Regions from separate parts of the Homo sapiens genome. Here all the other regions are linked to region 1. The links are contacts of gene promoters, found by promoter capture Hi-C in blood cells and fetal thymus (Javierre and others, 2016). All regions are on one chromosome and are shown on one strand. The core of a region is centred on a gene start or on the middle of the fragment in contact, and the rest is flanking DNA. Distances in the headings are between cores, read along the strand shown.

The links. The method cuts DNA at HindIII sites, captures the fragments that hold promoters and counts their contacts. A CHiCAGO score of 5 or more calls a contact.
Region 2: a fragment that was not itself captured here is called in contact with the fragment with the promoter of PCDH9 in region 1 in 1 of 17 cell types (total CD4 T cells); the score reaches 7.0 in total CD4 T cells.
Region 3: a fragment that was not itself captured here is called in contact with the fragment with the promoter of PCDH9 in region 1 in 3 of 17 cell types (monocytes, naive CD4 T cells and non-activated CD4 T cells); the score reaches 7.4 in monocytes.
Region 4: a fragment that was not itself captured here is called in contact with the fragment with the promoter of PCDH9 in region 1 in 1 of 17 cell types (M2 macrophages); the score reaches 5.9 in M2 macrophages.
Region 5: a fragment that was not itself captured here is called in contact with the fragment with the promoter of PCDH9 in region 1 in 1 of 17 cell types (total CD4 T cells); the score reaches 5.1 in total CD4 T cells.
Region 6: a contact is called between a fragment that was not itself captured here and the fragment with the promoter of PCDH9 in region 1, in 2 of 17 cell types (M2 macrophages and M0 macrophages). The highest score is 11.6, in M2 macrophages.

The regions. Positions count from the first base shown.
Region 1 is chr13:67,228,233-67,231,946 of GRCh38, forward strand. PCDH9 (protocadherin 9) reads right to left here and starts at 2,104. Exons shown (of 5, transcript NM_203487.3): 1 at 1,548-2,104; 2 at 1-343. The coding sequence starts at 208. RefSeq lists a silencer at 2,375-2,514. The HindIII fragment of the contact is 4,939 bases long and covers 1-3,714 here.
Region 2 is chr13:61,853,815-61,857,528 of GRCh38, forward strand. No RefSeq gene overlaps it. Among named protein-coding and RNA genes, the nearest start is that of LINC00358, 170 kb to the right of the region's middle. The HindIII fragment of the contact is 9,273 bases long and covers 1-3,714 here.
Region 3 is chr13:61,872,474-61,876,187 of GRCh38, forward strand. No RefSeq gene overlaps it. Among named protein-coding and RNA genes, the nearest start is that of LINC00358, 160 kb to the right of the region's middle. The HindIII fragment of the contact is 624 bases long and covers 1,276-1,899 here.
Region 4 is chr13:61,888,409-61,892,122 of GRCh38, forward strand. No RefSeq gene overlaps it. Among named protein-coding and RNA genes, the nearest start is that of LINC00358, 140 kb to the right of the region's middle. The HindIII fragment of the contact is 2,581 bases long and covers 452-3,032 here.
Region 5 is chr13:62,002,777-62,006,490 of GRCh38, forward strand. It overlaps LINC00358 (long intergenic non-protein coding RNA 358), which reads right to left. Exons shown (of 2, transcript NR_046995.1): 2 at 749-1,734. Among named protein-coding and RNA genes, the nearest start is that of LINC00358, 25 kb to the right of the region's middle. The HindIII fragment of the contact is 1,889 bases long and covers 1,218-3,106 here.
Region 6 is chr13:62,112,850-62,116,563 of GRCh38, forward strand. No RefSeq gene overlaps it. Among named protein-coding and RNA genes, the nearest start is that of LINC00358, 85 kb to the left of the region's middle. The HindIII fragment of the contact is 1,489 bases long and covers 827-2,315 here.

The DNA of each region.
Region 1 (3,714 bases), core at 854-3,353:
CTTTAGAAACCAGTCTGTAGACAAGGCTGGCGCTGGTCCCTGTGGCAGCATTGATGTGAGAAATGTTCAGATCCTTTGGTATGTTTCCTATGGGCACATTTTCAGGCAATTCCTCTCTAATAGTGTAAATAAGTTCTTGAGCTATTGCGGAATCCAGCCTTAAACAGGCAATCAGAGCAGCCAACAGGTAAAAATCCCTCAGGTCCATGATAATGTATTTATTTTCTTTTCCTGGATTTTAGGGTTTAAAGGTTTCCACTGAGGAATGATGCACAAATTGCAAGAGGAAGCGTGCATGGACTGGAGGATGCATTATATCTCATCACTTATTTGGAGACAGCCGCTGTCAACACAATTGTATAGACAATATTATTCTTCAGTAAATAAAAACACACCGTCACAAAATATCACCACACATTTTCCCCTGAACATTAGTAAACATGGCAGTTTGCTCTGCCACTGTTTGCAAGTTTACTCTGTGGAGAAAAACACTAAATATCTCCTGCTGGTTGCATTTGCCGGGAGAAAATAAAATTTTCTACTTTTGAATTAAGGACAGCTGCTATTTTTACCTATATTCACGCACGTTGTTTTTCAGAATACTGTTTAATTCAAAACATGCATTCTTGTTCTCCTCTTCCCCTCCCCCTGTCTCACCCTCCTCCTAGCCTCTAACCTACCTCCCTCAGTCTTTTCAGGTGCAAGTGAAAAACACTAAGTATTTAGCTACGGTTCCTGCTAATTGCTTTGTCACATGTCAAATGTGTTTTCTTCTCTGCCCCACTGAGTCACCTATCTTTTCTAAAAAGGCTATCTTTTTCTTTCCTCCCAGTTCTTCAACTGCCTTCTAATACAATCTTACTGGGAAACGAGCATCCGGACATGCCGCTGCAGCGGCATCAGAAGCAATAGTCACCGGCCTCTACACATCCTCATTGCCTAAAAGCACAACAACAAGACTTCAGATTTCTTGCCCACAGCTTGCTCTCCTTTCTCCATATTGACAAATTATCCTCATTAGGATTCATAAACACATTAAAACTTTTAAAAATGTATAATAATATAGGATTCATTTTCCTAGAGGTGGAAGAGAGTGCCGAGATATAAGTGAAACGCAGCTAACATTCCCATGTAACATCACAATATTTTCTACTGAACATAAAAGAGAAAAAAAATGCAATTTCTTAATCCTGATCTCTGGTTAGAATATTAGTAACATTTGCCACACATAAATACTGCAACCCAATCATGCAGGTAAAAAGGCTTCTGCTTAGATAACTGCAGTTTAAATGGGTGCAAGGCTCCAGGCAGCTACCTACTTGAGTAGGACTGGTCAGTTCTCAGGCTCTAATCTTATCTGCATTAGGCTGCACAGTAGCTGATGCCCGCGATTAGTTCCGGCAGAGTGATGCAGGTAGGGATGCAGATACAGCCGAGTAGGTGAGCTCTGCCCCAACCGTCTACCCAATTACAAGCATCTTTCGCCTACACTGAGGACACATCTAAACACAGAATTTACAATTGTGCATGCGAAACTTTACACTTACGTTAGTTGCCTCAACCTTTCCCCTTTCCCAGTATGCTGCAGTTAGGAATGATTTGTTCCAACACATAGAAAGCCATGCATCTGGTAGCACCAGTTTGGGGAGAAATCAGAAGCAGCAAAATGTTTCCTCCTTGTAAAATGTGTTGCTTCGGGCTGGCAAATTAGCAACTCCAGAGAACAAATTCACGGATTTGTCGTTAGTCATTCTCTCCACATTTCGTCTCTCTTACCCACTGGGTCTGGGTTCTTCTGGGCATTTAGCACACACAACACATAGTTGCACTTCTTCAGCTCAGGGATATTTTCCACAGCAGCATGCATACCATTTCCATCCGATGCCAATACTGCTTAAGTCTCTAACTTCTTGTAGGAAACGTCAGAGTTGCGGTGATGATGATTCTCTGACAGCTATCCGGGTGACAGTTGCCCGAAAAATTCCTAATCGGTTATCTCTTGCGTGCTTCAGAGACTCTGAGGCGCTCCTTTCCGTCTCGCGTGCTCTCCCTCTCTCCCTTCCCCTCTGCCCCTCTCTCCTTCTCCCTCTCCTCTCTCTGAACTGAATTTCTTGATATAACTCTCAATAAGCCCAGAGGGAGGGCGTGACTGCCCAGGCCCCGCCCCCGGGCTCTGATTGGCCTGCATCTTGCGGCGCGGGCGGCCGCAGCCCGGCGCGAGGGAGGGAGCGCGGAACAAGGCGCTGACTGTCTCCCAGCCTCCCCTCCTCCGCGCCCCCTCGGCAGCAGCGAAAACCCGGAAATCTGATCCTGGCCCCAGGAGAGCCGGGTTCCATGAGGTGCACTGAGCATGCTCTGCAGGGTCCGGCGTGGGAGGGACGCGCTGGCGCTCCCCAGGCCCGGGCGGAAGCGGCGCTCGCAGGCGCTGAAAGCGAGCGACCCTCTGAGCCCGGGTGGTCCGGCGGGCAAGGGCGGCGCGGGAGACCCGCAGGGCGCGGGCGCGGATCCGGGGAACCAGGGCCACCGCTGCGGGCGGATGGGGGTCACCGAGGCGGCTCGTCTCCAGGCGCACACTTCGCACATCTCTTTGCTAAGTGAAGGGGCCAAAATGCACAGATGGGGGAGTCTACCCAGGAACAGAGGCGCGAGACGTATAGCCACCCCTGGGTTGGGAGCACGAGCCAGCAGATCCCCGGAGCGCGTTAAACGGACAACATGCCCGGTGCTGCAAATAGAGGCTTTTGCTGGCAGGGACATTGGAAAGAAGGGCGGAGAGGGAGTACAGCGAAAGGTGGGGACCGCAGAATTTGGAATCTCTGCGGAGACCGGAAAGAAAATTAATCGGAGCACTTCCTACATGCAGAGCCACGGAAACTGCCTTGGAAAGAGAAAGTGGCAGCGTCTGGGTCCCCTCGGTCAGCCCGGGCCAGTCGGCTGCGCGTGCGAAGTCTCCTCTAGCGGAGCGGGACCGGCCGCGGCGGTGGATCGTGGCGGTCCCTGCACTTCTGCTCCAGCCGCGCCTGGAAACCTGAGCCCGGACTCGCGGCTGCTGCAAAACCCGCTTCCAGCCCACCTCACTGCGAACTTTGCTTCCGAGGGGCTGGAAGGAGTCCCAGGCAGCTGTTTCCCAAGCTGTGGAACACTTCCTTTCCCCTAGGCACTTTCTGCTGATTCCAACTTTCTTTCCTGTGATTTTCGTCTTTTCCCGTGCATTTCATTTCTCCGACTCCAGCTCTGTACTAAATCCTCACAAGTTTCTCGTTTTCATACGGGAACTGGATGGAATGACTCCCCAAAAAATACAGCTTTATTTCTCAAATACTGACCCCCAAAGCACTATCTAGTAATATATTTGATTGATCTTTCAAAGTCAGTAAACCACAAAGGTTTGTGTAATGGCTTGTACTTAACGCCTGATACCTGAGTAAAGTTTGAAGCATTAACATAGGAACAGTTCACTTGGAACAAAAATTTATTTTCTGAATGACCTATAAAGGTTGTCAGAGAAGGTCTTAGTACATGATTGAATAACTTGGTCTAACTTACAGGAAGAATAAAGGGCATTTATTTTAAACCTGTGTGTTCCCCATTCTATAATGGGCTGCCTAGGCATTAAAGGCTCTTGACATACTTAAGCTCTTGACTGAGGGCGTGTTGGAGATTACCCCTTGTTTTTGAGTACAATAGTTTTGTTTGCTTTTTTTCTTTTTTAAG
Region 2 (3,714 bases), core at 446-2,945, 5.4 Mb before region 1:
AGAGTTAAACAACCATGTGATCTGGTTTTAGGACATTTCCATCACTCTTAAAAGATCTCTCGCCAAGTATTAAGTTTGATCTCACAAATGACTTTGGAAAGTGGAGTCAGTACTAGAATGCAGAGGCTTCGACTGGGTGTTTGTTCTCATGGGCTACCTGGTGGCCTTATCTACCTTATACTATCCCCTTACCTGGAAACACTGCCAGCATCCACTATGTATACATGCTTTTTTTCTATCAACGGAGCTCATGAGGTTGTCGATTCCATGGCCTTGCCTTCATTTATGACACACATGCCACACAATTCAGTCATGGTACCATATTCTCCTGGATAATCATTGTTCAAGGATTATGACTCCTTTAGAGGATATTGCTATGCCCAGTCTAACAAAAAATCTTCAGTATCCCAGTAAAAGCCTCATTAAGAATAAAACCAATTTATAGGAAGCAAAGCAGACTGATGGAGACGTAGAATTCCTTACCTGAAGCAAGTCAGCTTCTTAAAATCCCCCATAATGCGAGCCAATAAATGACTCCCTCTTTATTATACCAGTTTGGCCTTCAAATTTACATTCTCTGTGAATTCCAGGGCATCTCAACCAGAGAAACTACTACTAAGAAACTAAGTAGTCCAGGGTACCTGGCAGAAGCAAGTACAAATCTCTTTGAAAGGATATATGCTCAACCCAAGATGAAGACCCAGATGAGGCATGGAAAATGTAAACTCACTAACAAAGCAAATATGAGGAAACAAGCTACTTTAAATGCCAAAGGAAGCAATGTGCTATAGCACTAGAGCTGTCCAGGTTTTTGGATAATGGAGATGTGAGATAGGAAATATAACTTAAGTGCTTTTAAAGAATAAAATAAAAAAATGAAAACAAGACGCTGCCACAAATGACATTGTTTCTCTTTTATCCTCATCTGAATGCTTATAACAATAAATTATGTTTGTTCAGAGACGATCCTTAAGTAGTAAAGGGAGCCAACACAAACACGTATGTTGCAGAAAAGAAAATATCTTTTTCTCTGAACAGTATTGGTGAACAATAGCCCTAGGCAGAATAATGTATCTTGATATTTGTGTTATTATATTATTATTTTTATTATCATCTTTTATTATAACATAGCCCACAAAATAATAATGCTTCTGTTTGACAGACGGGTTTAATTATACCACTTATTTAAAATTAATAATTTGCTTATAACCCAAATTTAAGAAACAAGAAAAAAACTTTGCTGGAACTTCCACTTTTGTTCTTTATTCTAGGATAAATGTACTTCAATGTGACTCCTGTTTTTAGAATGTGGTATGCAGTTAATAGTATTGACTTCTGAATAGTATATGAAGAAGGAAGAATAATATATTATCACAAACAAAAGCAACGGATGAGAAGCGAGGTTATACATAAAGCAGAAGAAGGTTAAGAACCATGAACTTTTCTTTGGCTATGAGCTGTGGAAAGTACTTAACTATGAGTAAATTCAAATTTATTAGAGGATTGGTAAATGCAATCCACACTATGATGTACCCTTCATTGTGAATCCTCCAAAAATTTAAAAATTACAGTACTCTAGTATAATGACATATGTGAAATGCTTGGTTTAATTTTCAAGTCAAAGTTTATATAAGTCAAAACAGGGTCAAGCTATAAGGTCAAGCATAATGTAATAGCTGACATAGGTGTTATAAAAAAGCACAAAGAAGAAATTGTATTAAAATTTAAAAAAACTAAAAGAAAAGGAAGTTACAGGAGAATTTAAATAAAATAATGTTAGTAAATATAATAGGCACATGGCTAATATATTTACAACTATTGTCATTATTTATTATTATTCTTATTTTTTTTTTTTGAGATGGAATTTTGCTCTTGTTTCTCAGACTGGAGTGCAATGGTGCCATCTCGGCTCACCACAACCTCTGCCTCCCGGGTTCAAGCAATTCTGTCTCAGCCTCCCGAATAGCTGGGATTACAGGTGCATGCCACCATGCCCGGCTAATTTTTGTATTTTTAGTAGAGATGGGGTTTCATCATATTGGTCAGGCTGGTCTCGAAGTCCTGACCTCAGGTGATCTGCTCGCCTTGGCCTCCCAAAGCGTGGGGATTACAGGTGTGAGCCACAGCGCCCGACCTATTTTCATTATATTTTTATTGGTACATGGAATACCTATGTAATAAGATATATTGAAATACTAATCTTTGTGATGTTTTTCCTGACTCTTTTGTGTTTTATTTCTGAATGAGCGTTAAAGTCATTCCTATTACTCAAGTATAATCGGGGTAATTTACAGCAGAAATCCAAAGGGGAAGACCAGTCTATGTTGTTTTTGGCTTCTAAAGCAAAATTTTCTTGCTGCTGAAGAGCAAAAAGACTTTCAAATTCTAAATTTTTTATATGCAAGGGCTGGAATTTTTTGAGTCATGCTAGCAATTGAGGTGGGAGAAAACTTGAAAAATGAGCAGTAAGACATTGAAAGAGATACTATGCAGAATTTGAGCAGTAACAACAACTTAGAAAGAGAAGAGAGGAAGACCTAGACAGCTTTATTTCCCAGGAGAATTAAATGATCCACAGTGGAATGGGAGAAGAAAGAGAAGGTGGAAATGATGATGGTTAAGCAAACGCAATTAGTCCGGAATGGGGAGTAATTTATGGACAAAACACAAGTATACACCTCTTGAGTTTATGATAAATAAATGAGTTAATATTCATAAATGCAGCAGTGTCTGGCCTCAGTAAGTACTCAAATATATATTCATAGGTAAAATTTTATACACTGTATTTGTATGTTCACTTAATAAAACATGTTTTAAAATTGAAAATCATATGAGTAAAGCTATGACTGATCTTTCTGAGCTACCGCTGGGGACTTTCATGTTTTCTGTTACATGTATTAGGGATAGTGAACTAACAATTACTTTTTAATGAGAAAATAAATAAAACACATTCACAATAAAAATACACTTAATATAAAATTGAGTGACTAAGTTTTGCCCTTGACTTGTGGCCTGACTCTATTTTGACTCTATTATGAACAGACTCAAAATAGATTCAAGGGCAATAGCTGACCTAAACGTTATAAAGCAATGAAAAAAAAAAGCTGCATCAATTTATCATGAGCATGGATATCACGGAAACAGACTGGAGTAGAGGATGCCAGTACTGGGCCTTTCCCTACATGGCAGAAGATTCCCTTCTGACCAAGCAATAGCTGACCTAAACGTTATAAAGCAATGAAAAAAAAAAAAGCTGCATCAATTTATCATGAGGATGGATATCACGGAAACAGACTGGAGTAGATGCCAGTACTGGACCTTTCCCTGCATGGCAGAAGATTCCCTTCTGACCAAGGATGGGTCTACAAATGCTCTCCAGGAACTAGTGCCTGGAAACAGAGGCTTTATGAATCTACTTCATGTTTTGTTTTGTGGGGACGGAGCTGTACCCAAATTTCAAGACCAAGTTCTTTTTACTCTTTCCTCTCTTTTCCTCAAGCAAAAGGAGTCTCTCCCCATGACTATCACAACTGAGAATTCATGAGGTCACACCCAAGGCCCATGGCAACTGCTGTCTGGTTGTCACTAATGTTTATTCAAAGCCCAAGGACTCATTAGTCAGCAATTGATGAATCCTGCCAAGACTGGGTCTTTCCCTTCATGGGAGCAGGTTCCCTTTCAGCTCAGGGTGGGTCTACAGATTCTATCCGGGAG
Region 3 (3,714 bases), core at 338-2,837, 5.4 Mb before region 1:
ACAGCAGAACCACTCCTGAACTTCTCAGTGATGCTGGTGTTTCTCTCACCAGACCTCCTTTTTGGCTTTCTAACATGGTGTATGCTCTGGACCTTACTTGGAACATAATCATCTGGTGGGTTTTTGTGTCTTAGTTATGATATCCATTCTGGTTCTCCCACTTTCTTGTGTCCTTTACTCCAATCATTATCTGCTTCCAGATAATTTCTGACACTTTGACACTCCATAGTGTGGAGATCAATATTTTTTCTATGTTTCATGGAGTCATCCTGACAGCAAGTTTGGATTATTCCCTAAGATTATTGCTAGGTGTTAATTCATCAATCATGGGACAGTGCTCCAAATAATTTACTCACACATTCAAGTAAAGTGATAATTAAAGTTCTTTTATTTTTTTCCTTAATTGAGACAGGTTCTCACTCTGTCACCCAGGCATGAGTGCAGTGGAACAATCACAGCTCACTGCAGCCTGAAACTCCTGGGCTCAGGCAATCCACCTCCAGCTCTTGGGCAGCTGGGACTACAGGCATGGGTCACCACGCCCTGCTAATTTTTCTATTCTTTTTTTAGAGACAGGGTTTCACCATGTTACCCAGGCTCATCTTGAACTCCTGAGCTCAAGCAATCTGCCCGCCTTGGCCTTCGTAAGTGCTGGGATTACAGGTGTGTGCCCCCGTGCTTGGCCAATTCTAGCTCTTAATAGAGAGTGATAGTCTTCTTTGGCAGATTCAGAGTTTTTATTAAAATATAAAAATTTAAGAATTTAGAGTCATAAACCCAGATTTTTCCATTCATGTGTCAGGGTCCCATTTGTTCCAATTCAAAACTCTGTTATTGGCATAGTAATCTGCTTTGGTTATGACATAAACCTTCCTTGGAGCCTAACTTTTCTGATCAGTATTTGATTTCATACTCAACTTTCTCTGCCCTCCTCTTGAAAGACATAACAGGCTCTCTGTATGTTACCAATGAGAAAACCTGGTTTTCATGGTAGGCTTTCAATTAACAGCTCATCTCTCTTAGATTTGTATTATCTTTCCCTAATGTGTCAATCTAATCTAGATTTGCAATAAAGCTGTGATTCCTTTGTCTGCATTAACTTTCTTTTGCTGTGTGACAATATTATCTCAGACTTAGCATATAGTTTAAAACAACATTTTTTTTTCTTACAGCCTCTGTGGGTCAAGAATCCAGCCGTGGCTTAGCTTGTTTCCCTTTTTAGGGTATTCCAAGGCTAGCAATCAAGATATAAGCTCCACTGCAATCTCAGCTGGAAGCTTGACTGGAACAGGATCTATTTCCCTGTTTGCATGGTTGTTAGTAGCATTCAGTTCCTTACAGATGTAGTACTGAGAGCTTCAAATATGTTTACTGTCTCTTGGAAGAAGGATGCCTTCAGCTCCCAGGGCTCACCTGCAGGCCTTGCTGTATGAGGTTTACTAACATAGCCACTTGCTTCCTCACATCATGAAAGTGAGAGACTGTAGCAATTTGACAGCTACAATCTTATGAAACAGATCACATGATTACATACATGTAATCATGTGCATATTCTCACCTTTGCCATATTCTATATTTAGAAGCAAGTGACAGGTCCCATCTACACTGAAAGGGAAGGGATAACACAAGGATGTGAACAATAGGATGTGAGGGTAATGGCAGTCCTCCCATAATCTTTTCACTTTGCATAGTTTATCTTTAATCTGTAATTTTTAAATACTTGACACATTGCACCAGATAGCACATCCCTTTCTGTCAGTATAATAAAATATTCTAATTCAACACCTGTGAATATTTCAACAATAGTACTGCTACCTCATCTCAGGGACTGTATGTGTTTCACTGACACCAGTGAGTGGGTCTTTGTTTCCAGCCAGATGGTGAGTGATTCCATTCCAAAGCTTTGTCTCATTGCCTGTACTCTTAGACAACTCCTGGCACCCATTTATGATCTTTGTAGGAAAGGGTTTCTGATTCAGAGTTTAGAGTGCAGAATGTTTCTCAGGGAGCAGAAGGAAGAAAGAAGTCAGACTGGGTACTGGAAGAAGTGGAGTTGGAACGCAATCCTGACAGTCTCCGCCACTGTACAGGCACAGTTGGAGCTGAAATGACCCATCTGAGATTTCCCATATTCTACTAGAAATACTGACTCTCTAACACAACCACATTCAATTATTGGCTATGGGTATCTCTGGAATGGTATGAGTTGAGGTGATAAAACTTCCTGAACCTAAGTTAATCCCTCCTGATACTGAAAACTTAGATTGTCTGCTTTCTTCTAAAAGCATTCTAAGTAACTGCAACAACAATTTCTTCCTCGAAGGAAAATTTGGGTCTAAATTCCCCAACTGCTTCCTGTTCAGAATGAAGAAAATATTTCTACTATGTATTGGGTATATTGGCTTCTGACAACTCTACAAGTAAATCCCTCTTCAGGGGTTGTTCTAGCCTAAAGGCAATTGCCATTCTCAAGTTTATGCCCTCTGCCTGAGGGCAGCCTGTAACAAATATCTGATCAATGTTACTTAAGGAAAGAAAAAGATGGTCCCATCACCTCAACTGAGATAACTTTGTGAATCCATTCCAGTTCCAAATTTCCTTGTGAGATTGCCTAAGGTCTCTGTTGCCACTGTGTTGCAGGAATCGGGAGGACAAGAGAAACCTCATGGTAAAGTAGGAGGATCTTTATTGAGTGCACTCAGACCCAGTGGACATAACATCCAAAAAACTGGGCCCAGAACAAAGACAGCACTTGACATTTATACACACTTTAAAAAGGGGGTGGGCTAGCTTGAGTCAGGCTTACAGTGGCATGAAGTGAAAGCAAGGATACAGAGGCAGAACAAAGGCAGTGAATCAAATTGTGACAGGTGCATAACTCGGAATTACATATGACCATTGCCAGGCAACCCAGATGGCTGTTATCTAGGTTATGCCTAGGCACAGGCTTATCCCATAACTTTCACTATGGTGCCCAGGTGGCCTTATCTCAGGCCTGCACAGATGGTTTATGACCTTCACTCCACTGCTTAGGTTAAACAGAATACTTGAAGTCACTAGTTACAGAGAGCAGGAATCTATAAACTCATACCATAAGAGAAAGGAAAATTTGTTTTTCTCCTCGCTATGTTGAGGGAATGCTGGGAGAGTCTCCAGAGCACATTCCTTTGTGTCCTGGCTTCTTAGATAGTATTATCAAGAATTTTCCAGGGTCTGGGCTGTGCCTGTTGCTGCCTCTGGGACAAGTCAGCCTAACACAAGAAAGCTTATTTCTCTTTGTAATTTTATTTCTCTTTCTTTCTTTAATTTCATGCCTCAACTGAATCACAGTCTAACTGCTCCCTCTTTCCATTTCCTCATAGGTGTTATTTCTAAGAGAACGCCCCCCACAAAAACTCTACATACAGATAGCAGACTCTCAGTGCCTGTTTTCAGGAAGCCTGACTTGATATATTTGTTTTCTTATAACTTTCCAATTTTGTGTGATTTCTCAGAGATTATATATAAGCAGTGGTTCTGATAATGATTTAACACTATCCATCTTGGCATTTTTTTCCCTTTCCATAATGCCAACGTATTCTGGGATTCCTTCCTCCTGACTGTTACTTCCTCTTTGTCTATCTTATGGACTCTTCCGTATTTGACTTATTGCTGATTTTGACATATTGTGGGGTTCAATCTTTACCTCTCTTCTCTCTTCTATGTTCTCTTTCT
Region 4 (3,714 bases), core at 492-2,991, 5.3 Mb before region 1:
GACTCTCAATATCATGTATATCTTAAATTATCTTATAAGCTCTTCTAAATTTAAATAAACCTTAGAAATCTTGCCTTACTACAAGACTAAATAGCAGTTTTAATGGAACTGAATTAGATCTGAAAGAAAAATAGGAGGGCTTATGCTTTTATATTTGTTCTTATTTAATATCGCTAGGAAAATTTTAAGTAAAAATTACATTAAATTCCAATACCCATAAACATATGTTACATAGTGTAAGTGAAAAGTATATTTTGTTAGAATATTGCTTTCTACAAAAATACTGTCCTTACAACTCATCAATCTTTGCACAACTATGAAATATTTGCGATACACTATTTTGTTCCTCATTTTCATGAATTGTATGATGTATACACTAATTGTACCAACCCATATGTGAAGACTACATGGGTAAATATTTGAAACCTTAAGACAGCACCTGGGTATATAAAGCTTGAGCATTGCTTATTCAAAAATCTAAACACTGATATGCTCCCAAATCAGAATTTTTTTGTGCACCAACATGATGCCACAGTAGAAAAACCACACTTTATGTGCTGGGTTTCAGTCAAAACTTGTACTCATGTGCTGGGTTTCATGCACAAAATTATTTGAAATACTGTATGACACTACCTTCAGACTATGTGTATATAAGACATAAATGAATTTTTGTGTTCAGACTTGGATCCCATCCCCAAGACATCACTTTATGCATATGCAAATATTCCCAAATCCAAAAAACTCAAAAATACTTCTGGTCCCAAGCACTTAAGACAAAGAATATTCACCATGTATGAGTATTTTATTAGGAGCAAAAAATTAATTTAATTTTAAATAACATTTATATGAAACAAAGTAATAAGGGATGCACTTTCTTCTAAGCTAAAATTGTTAGAGTTGTACTCACCAAAGTAGTCCATATTTAATATTTAATTCTGTATAGGGGTAATACATTTTAACCTGTGTGAAATATAAGTTGGTACCTATTTCTCACAAAAATCACTTGGTTGGAAATCTCTGTGGATGACTCAAATAAAAATATATTTCAGAATTATTCAAATACGTACATTGTTGAATCCTGGTACTGAACTGGGCCGAGCTTCTGAGGTGCTGGGTGTGGTTTCTGGATCCCTGGAGGAAGACCTGCTCTTAGCCAGAGGCTTACTTGCACTTCTTTGGTACTTTTCCCATCTACTAGGTGAACTCTAAATTCCTTCCCATTGAATATAGGCACGACTTAATTACGTATTCGAAAAATTTAATGTAGTGAAAGTTAGAATTCTGGGACTTTTCAGGTTAGTTAAAAGAAGCTGTGGAAATTCCAATTAAAAAGAAGCTGTGGAAATTCCAAGCAAACCAATAGGAATACTTACCCTGAGGGCCCTGAGTTCAACTCTAAGAAAGTCAACTATCCCAAGAAGGCCATGCTAAAGAGGCCACAGCTAGGCACTCTGTCAACAATCTTTATTTTGTAGGGTCAGCACTGTCACTTAAGGTAGTGTAGCAAATATAAAAATGAACCTCATTTATTTTCTTGAGGAAATTTTCAGTCAAAATGTCGGAAGTGCTGGCCATTTTCTTTCAGCCAGAAATAATGAAATAGCCAGGACAAAGAAATGAGCCATGACAGCAACTGTTTAGTTTTCAAGCACAATGAAAAGAAATATCATGGAATCAAGAATTGAAGGATTTGAAAATAAAATAATTTCTTTTTCACAGCCTGTTTTGACATGCCCCAAAAAATGTTCTTAAAGGGAGAAATAACTTCGGGGCAAAATTATCTTAACTTTGAGGCTTTAAAACTAAGAATTCAGAAAGGTTGAAGTGTGTGTCCCATAGATATTCTTGACTAGATAACAAGTTTCCTAAAACTCTTAAGCACACCGCCAACAACCTCATGATTCTTAGCCCAAGGCAAATAAGGACTAAATTCGGAGTTTTGTGGTTCGGCATTTATTTAATGAACCAAACCCAGATAAGAGTCACAGAAAAATTAATATTTTTATAAAACACTTTTCCTGGCAGAAGCACAGAGACAATTCAAAATAAGAAGAGTCCTTATTCTACAGGCAAGTCATAGGCTGAAAATACCATGCAGCTGTAAACATGAGTGATTTGTTATGTAAAAGTGGGACTCCGGAGAAACTGAGATCTCGGAGGGCAGGGGCAGGAGATGTAAAGGAGCATTCCCAGGAAGCAGCCCTGAGCCTGCAATTCTTTCCATTCAAGGCTCTAGAAACATGATTCTTGCTAGATTTCAGAAATGTGGTAGATCACTTACTATTGCTTCCTATGTCTTTCTTTTTTGAACAGGAGGATTTATTGCATTCACTCTGTCTCTGTCACATCTTTTTATATTGAGTATATGGGGGAAGATAACTACTTCCTTGTTCACACGACTTCAAGTTGAGAGGAAAACAGTGAGAAAACCTGAATCTGTTTAAAAGTTTTGAGATCCTGGTATTGCATCTGGTTCCATAATTAGATATGACTTTTAAGGTACTTAAGAAAGGATGATAGTATCTTTTAAAGTGGAAGAAATTTAAATTATTAAATTTTATATTATAAATTATAATTATAGTGTAATATATAATTACATATTACACATACTATGATCATTTATGTGTTATAAAATATTACAATATAATTATATTGTAATATATAGTATATTATAATAATTTATAATGTATAATTGTAATAATTATAGTATAATGTGTAGTATACTGTAATAATTTATAATGTATAAGTGATCATTATATATAATGTATTTTATTTATTATAGTTATATATGTAAATTTTTTTCCAGTAGGCAGATTAGAAAAGATAGCAAATTTTTTGCTGCTCTTTCTGTTGAGAGGTGGACCCTAATTTCTCTCCTTTTGAATCTTAGCTAGATTTGATGACATTCTTGGTTATTATAATATGGTAGATAATGTTGTGGTAATTTCAATGCTAGGTCATAAGATCGCGTCTTGCTAGTGCATGAGCCTCTTGAAACCTTCCCTCTGGGAGTCAAGACCTAGATTGTGAGAAGCTTGATTTCTCTGAGATCACCCTCATGGAGGGTCAGTTTAGACACTATTTCAGCAGAGTTTCAGCAGAGCTAATCCTTCCAGCCAACCTCATCAAGGCTAAAGACATCTGTGTGAAGCTGTATTGAACTCTAAAGAACATCTCTTCTGCCAGTAGAAGAACATTGGTGACATCCATCAATGTCACAAGAAACACAATAAGTGCCTAATCTCTGCCTGAACTTCTAACCCACAAAATTCTGACAAGTAGTGAAGTGATTGCTTTTTAAGCTACAAATATTTTGAGCACTTCATTATAGAAAAATTGATTACTAGGACAAAGGCTTGCCAACATTTTATGTCTCCCCAGCTCAAAAAAGCGTCATTTAAAAAAATCCTCCAGCATTAAATTGCATATGGTTTTGCAGACAAAATGCTGATTATTTTTATTATTATATTATGCTTATGTATACTCTCTTACCATTTTTTCATCTTCCCTTTTTTGGTCAAAAGCTACAGTGATAAACCTAATTAAATATCTTAGTAAAACTAAGATATTCATTACAGGTATCATGGAATCTCATCTTAACTATTTCAGGAGTTTAATTAGGTATACTGTCGCTCTACTGCTTCACCATACAGAGCCTGTCTTTATTATTGCCTTTAACTTAAAAAAAATATTTATTTATATTTTCCACTGGAA
Region 5 (3,714 bases), core at 912-3,411, 5.2 Mb before region 1:
GATCTGAGGAGCAGAAAGATAAAAAAGGATAAAGAAAACTTAGAGCCTCAGAGACCAAGAGGAAACCATCAAGCAAAATAACATGTGCATAACAGTAATCCAGTTGTTACTGTGGGAATAGTTTGAGAACTCTCATGACGCTTACTCCTCCAGAAAGAGATTATGTTCCTTTGTGTCATGTGCCCAGTATAACCAGAAATCAAGGCTTGCCTTAATTTAATTTCACAAAATGAGATGATTTTAAGCCTTGCTATAATATAGGCTCTAGTAAGAGCACTACCTACCTGTTACCCTTACTTATGGGGAAGTCTTTTGAGTCCTAACTTAAAATAAATGGAAAATTTACTAGCTGCCTTCAAACTGACAAGACTTGGGATTCCCTTTTTTTTTTTTTTTTTTTTTTTTATAAAAAAAAAAAAGCTCTAGCACCTTGAAGTTGTTAGTGGTGCTAAGCATCTCTGGTTCTTAGTGCCCTTTTCAGAGGATAAGAAAAGCAGTCCCTAATTCTAGGCTCAGTTCTACATGTTTATATCATCTCTTAAGTTTTAGTTCAGTAATTTGTCACTGACTTTTAAATTGTCAGATGCCTTTCAGCAGACATTTTAATGTTTGAAATAGTATGTTTAATGATGTTTACTGGCAAGATCAATAAAACAAACACACACACAAAGAAATAAAAACTAGCGACATTTCAAGGTAAAGTTTCATCATTAAAACAGGAGTAATGTCAAAGGCTAAGATGCAAGCATACAATATGAACTCATTTTATTGTTTAAATTATTTTACTATGCCAAAGTTATATTAAGATTTAAAACTCCTCTAATTTAGTATTGCAGCTTAGTCACTATGATCAATTCTCTCAAAGATAACAACAAAAAAAGGATGGATGAAAACTGCATGTTAAAACGGATCAAAGAGTTAATGATATAACAAGGGATTACTGAAAATCTACAAAAAAAATGCATTTCCAGCTTAGAATAAAGAAAAGTAAGCCTGGTATTTAAAATTGCTTTAGTCTAAAGATCAAAGAAAGTGGTAAATATGTGGATAAATCTGAGAAAATTTAACTTTATTATAGAGTATTATCAATATCATGGAGTCTTGGAATTACACAGCAAAGTAATCCATGCATTTGAATAGAACTAATCCTAAGAGAGGTTAATATTCTAAGATATTTGTAATGTTCAGGAGATGGGTAAACATATCTGTTAATATTAAGCTTGATGGAATGCAGAAAACTATTGTATATGTTTCTATTAGTGACTAATGAAAACAGTGTAAAACTTTTAAACTACTTGAGAGAAAAAAGAAATTATAATACATATTATATCCAAAAGAGTGTGGATTATCTTTTATCCCAGCTCTGGCTGTGACTCCCAAACTGGGTCATCCTCCAGGAAAATGGTCTCTCCAACCAACTGGGATCTGTAACTCCAATTCAGTCCTCATCTTTGTGGGTTGCCCCTTTCATCCTGTTCAGGCTCTGACTTGCTGAACTGAGCTGCCCCTTTAATGGACCCACTGTTCACCTGGCTCAAGCTCCAATCCTCCAGGCTGGAGAGCCATAACCCTCCACCACTGCATGTGAATATCCATCTCCTCCTGTTTGTAGTTCGACACCCACACAAGCTCAGCATTTTGTGAAGATCATCTCTTAACACTTCTTGGTCTCTAATATCCCACAAATGTCCGTTGGAATGGGAAGGCTGCCTCCACTGGACAACGTAGGCTGTCCTGTGAAACATCAAGTAAGGAATATGAAGATTTCACAATTTTTGTGAAGTTGAAAATAAATTATTCCCCAAATTAAGGAAGAATAGAATAAAATACGTAATCAGAGCCCCTTACTATCTGAAAGTATTCTTTTTAAACCTCTGCATGGCATTTGGGACTAGAGTCACGCTTTATTTTTACTGTCTAAAGAAAGCAATAGGCTAAGATACTATCAGTTTGGTTTTAGTTCATTGACCTTTTGAGGTGTGTAATTTACCCTATTTTTTCTAACTAATCATTTTGAGTTATATCAAGTTCATAGATAATTATTCATTTTAATGTTTCCCCTTTTCTTTCTCTGCTACTTTATCTTTCTCTCCCTTATTCTTTCTTACTCCTTTTCTCTCTTTTTTCCCTTCTTTATTTCCTCTGTTTGCCTATCAATTTTAGATTATTTGTTTGTGTTGCATTTAATACAGCTTTGTAAGCCACATTAAAATGTTTCTGGAAGATGATCAACTTTAAGTAAATAGATGAATTAAATAAATAACAGCATAAAGTATGATTTACATTGGAATCCATTTGGTTTCCTGTTTATACACTATATTAAAATTTTACATCAAAATTATATGGCAGTAAGAGGAAAATACCAAAGAGAAAAAAAAAATAAAGTTTGTAAATACATTTGAGAAGCATAAATAAAATAGAAATAAAAAACTGCGAATAGTTAAAGCCACCAGCCTATTGAACTCTATGCCTGGAGACCAATAGAGAGAACCACATCATGTTTTAATTACTACAGAATTAGGAAAGGTAGTCACGTAAAGGATTAGTTGCTTGAAAACAATGACTGGTGTAATCTGCTTGCTCCTAATATAAGGCTAAATATTACATTGTTGATTGCCTCCTTGGGATATAACTTAGATTTAAATGAAGTGATGTGAGAGATTTGAACACAGATTACACACACACACACACACACACACACATGCACACACACAAACACACATTATGAATGTTTATGTCCCCACCTCCCAATTTGTATGTTCAAATTCTACCACATTAGAATGAGGACATAGGGCCTTTGGAGGGATGATTAGATTATGAGGTCAGGGCCCTCAAGAACTGGATTAATATCCTTATAGGAGATCCAAAAGACATCCCTTTTGCCTTCTGCCATGTGAGAACATAACAAGAGAGCACATTTATTTTCTTATACCAGTCCAAAAGGACTAAAATATGTGGAATAATATGTACCTGTGTGTGTTCATTTGTGTTTGTGTATGTTCGTATAGTTCTCAAATCAAGAACTGACATATCCTACTGGCTTTTTGGCAGAATCCAAGATATCTTCACTATCACTCTGGGGCAAGGTATCTGAGTTCATCATACAAGCTTTAGTTCTAGACTGAAGGCCTCAGAGAACTGAGGGGAGACAACTATAAAACCAAAGATAAGCCATCCCACTCAAAATGATACTGCACACCAAAATTCTAAATTAGATATGTTAGAAAAATTATTCAACTCTCCCAAGGCAGCCATCACAAATAAACAACTAGATAATTAACAAATAACTTTAAAGAGTAATATCATAAAATAATTTAAGATACTTAAGTAAAAATATATTGAGATTACCCACAGAAGTAAATAGCAAGAAATAATGGAGCAAAATCACACAGAAATGAAAGAAATGAGGGCATAAAAACATAAATCATAGAATGAAGAACATAGTCATTGAATTAATAATATAATGAAACAAGTATATAATATTAATCCTTAACCAAACGAATTCTTATCTATATCAAAAGCAATCAATCTGGAAATTTAATATATTGAGATTAATATTCTTATTAATAACAAACATTATAGAGTTTATGGAAATAAATTGTGCAAATGTGCAAAACTTTTAGGAAGAAAATGATAAAGCAGCATTAAAAGATAAAAATCCATTAATAAATGGAAACAATATCACAATGAATTAGAAAACCCAACTTCATGAAG
Region 6 (3,714 bases), core at 321-2,820, 5.1 Mb before region 1:
TTCTCTGTCATATGCCCATTTTTTTTTTAGCTCTTAAAGATTTCTATGCAAAAAGAGGGTCAGGACTAAATAAGTTTGGGAAATGGAGCCTACTATATTCCATCCATGGAAAATCACAACCCACAAAACAAGGGTTCTGAACAATCTTTCAGTGAATAAGTGTTCAGCTTTGTTTATCCTACTTTTTACAAGTATGCTTTACCAGAGAACAGTTTTTAAAGTAACCTCTCTCTTTACATCCTGTAGATATAGAATTCCACAGAAAACCCTCTGAAATGCTGTTCTGTGCTAAACAAGAACTCCACTGCATATAACCTAAGTTACTTTGTAACCTTCTTGCCTATTCAAGCACAGACAGTCAAGGTAAATCTGAATCCACTCTCTAGAGTGTTTGTATGTATGAATTATCTCTCTAAAGCACCATCTGGCCACAATACTTTATCATTATCAACACACAAGAGCTGTCTGCATCCAGGAAAGTATTTCACACCTTATTTAAATGTGCTACCCAATATGCATGCGTGTGAACTATACATCCAGAGTCAGATATGCACTTCTCACATCTAACATCAACATATCAGGTTTGCCCAGTTCTCTCTCTCTCTCTGTGTGTGTGTGTCTCACACACACACATACACACACATTTTGAAGTTGAAGCTCTTGACTTCATAAGGATGACTCATCTCCTTTACTTGAATAGCTCGTGTGTGTGTGTATGTGTGTGTACGTGTGTGTAATATTCAAACATGGGCAGAGATAGAACTAGCTTGTGCACTAATCATATCTAAGACTAACATATCAGAGTTCACTAAAGATGAAAATGTTAAGCTTTCCTAGTTTGATGATGACTGTTTTCCCAACATAGGAGTATGCAATTCTTGTCCTCCAGCCAACATTACAAGTCTGAATATCTAGGCAAAGACTCTAATAAACTTGCACCATATCCAGTTTACAGTGATGCCTACACAAAGCCACTATAGAGAAAGAACATTCATACCTCTAAGAAGATAAATTCAGTGCAAAAATCATCTAAAGGTTAAAGTACTATGGCCTATTGTCCCCACCACAAAAAAATCTGAGTTTATGTGATATGTATAACTGTAAGGTTTAATTTAGATATATTAGATTACCTATATTGAAGTTTTTTAGTGGTGAGCACTTCCATATGAAAATAGGTAGTTTTGAAAGTTTAGGTCTTGCAGTTTTCCACATTACCATGTCAAAGTCGATAGTAAGAACATAAAGTTTTCTCTGCAGGTATTAGACAACCACACATTGACACACCTCTCTGAAAATTTCTTCTTTAAATTTCTGTTTAGATCACAATGAAAACAGCTGACTCCATATGAAAATGGTTACAAAAAAAATCATGTCAAGTGCAAATATATCTGAGCAGACAAGAAGATGAGCTATTCTAATAAAAGAGATAACTCATCCTTGTTATGTGAAGTCAAGAGCCTCAACTTCAAAAGGCAACATTTTAGGAAGATAAAGTGAATCCTTCTCATTCTAATTTTGTTGTTTCATACTTTATAAAACACAAAAGCAATGAATAAATTTTTAAAAATAACTTAGTGTACCTTCGGGTTTCTTTCCCAAGGAGCCTCCAGGTATTCTCTGAGATATGCCTAGAAATACAACAATACTGTTGTTGTTGTTGTTGTTGTCGTTTTGAAACAGAGTCTTGCTCTGTCGCCCAGACTGGAGTGCAATGCCGCAGTCTCCACTCACTGCAATTTCCACCTCCCGGGTCCAAGTGATTCTCCTGACTCAGCCTCTCGAGTAACTGGGATTACAGGCACCAGCCACCATGCCCAGCTAATCTTTGTATTTTTGTAGAGATGGAGTTTCACCATGTTGGCCAGGCTGGTCTCAAACTCCTGACTTCAAGTAATCCGCCCACTTTGGCCTCCCAAAGTGCTGTGATTACAGGTGTGAGCCACCGCGCCCAGTCAACAACACTGTTTTAATGTGTGAGGAAAAGGAAACACAGGGAAAGGGGAAAGCATGGTCTCTGAAGACATTTCATCTTTTCAGTTCCTAGTGTAGACAGTGAAATCCATGTACATTCGTTAATATAAAATGTTTAGATTACACCATTAGTAGATGGAGAGGGAAGTTTCTATAACACTACAGAAAATTCTAACTCATTACCATAATATCTTTTCACTCTTCACCTTCAATGCGAGGGCAACTGCAGCAGTCATTGGCAATCAATTTTCAGACTCCCAAGGGATGTGTCTGGGGATCTCTCAAGGTGAATAAACAATCAAAGACATATTTCAGCCAGGTGTAGGGACTCCTGTGGCTGTGGAAGCTTTTTGAGAATTTCATCTTACTGATATGGGAGAGCTGAGGAGAGAAGAGTGTGGTCCCTTCAAATGATCCGGAAGTGGGGAAGGGAAGTGCTGGGTAGAGGAGAAAGTGGTCCTTGCCTAGGGCTCCACCCCAACAGACCTAGGTGAGGACAAGCATTTTTGTTGCATTTCCCAAGACCACCCTGGCCTGCGGTGCCCCCATCCTGTGCCTATAAAAACCCCCGAGGCCCTAGTAGGCAGACACACAAGCAGCTGGACTTCGAGATGAGTGGATTGAAGGAAGAAGACACCAGAAGCTGGACGTGGAGGCGGAAGAGCACACCAACAGATGCTGGCAGGCAGGCCATCAAGCAGCAGAACAACACAGAGTTTTGCTGGGGCAGTCAGAGGACAGCCTAGGCCGCTGAACAGCCCAACTCCAGGGGAAATCCTTCCCACTCCATCCTGCTTTTGGTTTCCCCCATCTGCTGAGAGCTGCCTCCACTCAATAAAACCTTGCACTCATTCTCCAAGCCCAGGTGTGATCTGATTCTCCAGGTACATCAAGGCAAGGACCCGGGATACAGAAAGCCCTCTGTCCTTGTGACAAGGTAGAGGGTCTAATTGAGCTGGTTAACATAAGCCGCCTATAGATGGCAAAACTAAACGCGCAAAACTAAAAGAGCATCCTGTAACACACGCCCAGTGGGGCTTCAGGAGCTGTAAACATTCACCCCTTAGACACTGCCATGGGGTCGGAGCCCCACAGCCTGCCCATCTGTATGTTCCCATACAGGTTTGAACAGCAGGGCACTGAAGAAGTGAGCCACACCACATCACATGCCTTGTGAGGTGGACAAGGGAACTTTTCCCGTTTCAATAGGTTAATCATTTCTAGGTTAGTTTCTTGAATGTGTCCTCCCTGTACACTAAGACACAGTTTTGGAGTACAGTCTTTTCTCATCCAATATCTAGTATTGTAATTGAGTAGGTTAGCTTCAAAATGCATTTTAAACGTTTTTTTTCCTCCTTCCTTCCCAGTCTCAAGATGTAACCTCAAAGCAAAAGGTAGAAAACTTGTTTTTCTTCATCTTAAAATATAGCCTTGAAACCTACTATGAAATTCCCCTCCCTTCTCTTTCCCACCATGTTCCCCCTTACCCCATGCAAGGTTACCTAACTATATGCTTATTAAGAAATTCCAGGGCCTAACTGAAAACAAACCAGGCATGAAGGCCCAGCTGCAGAATTCACCTCCACTTAATGATTGCCTCAAAACCAATAATCTACAGCCTGGTTACTGTCAAGATGACACCATCCCACACTCCCAGTGGATCATAACTCAATACAGGCATTAGAACAAGATTCACAGTTTCTGCACCTTGTACAACTCCTGCAGACCTCCCATATCAAGCTT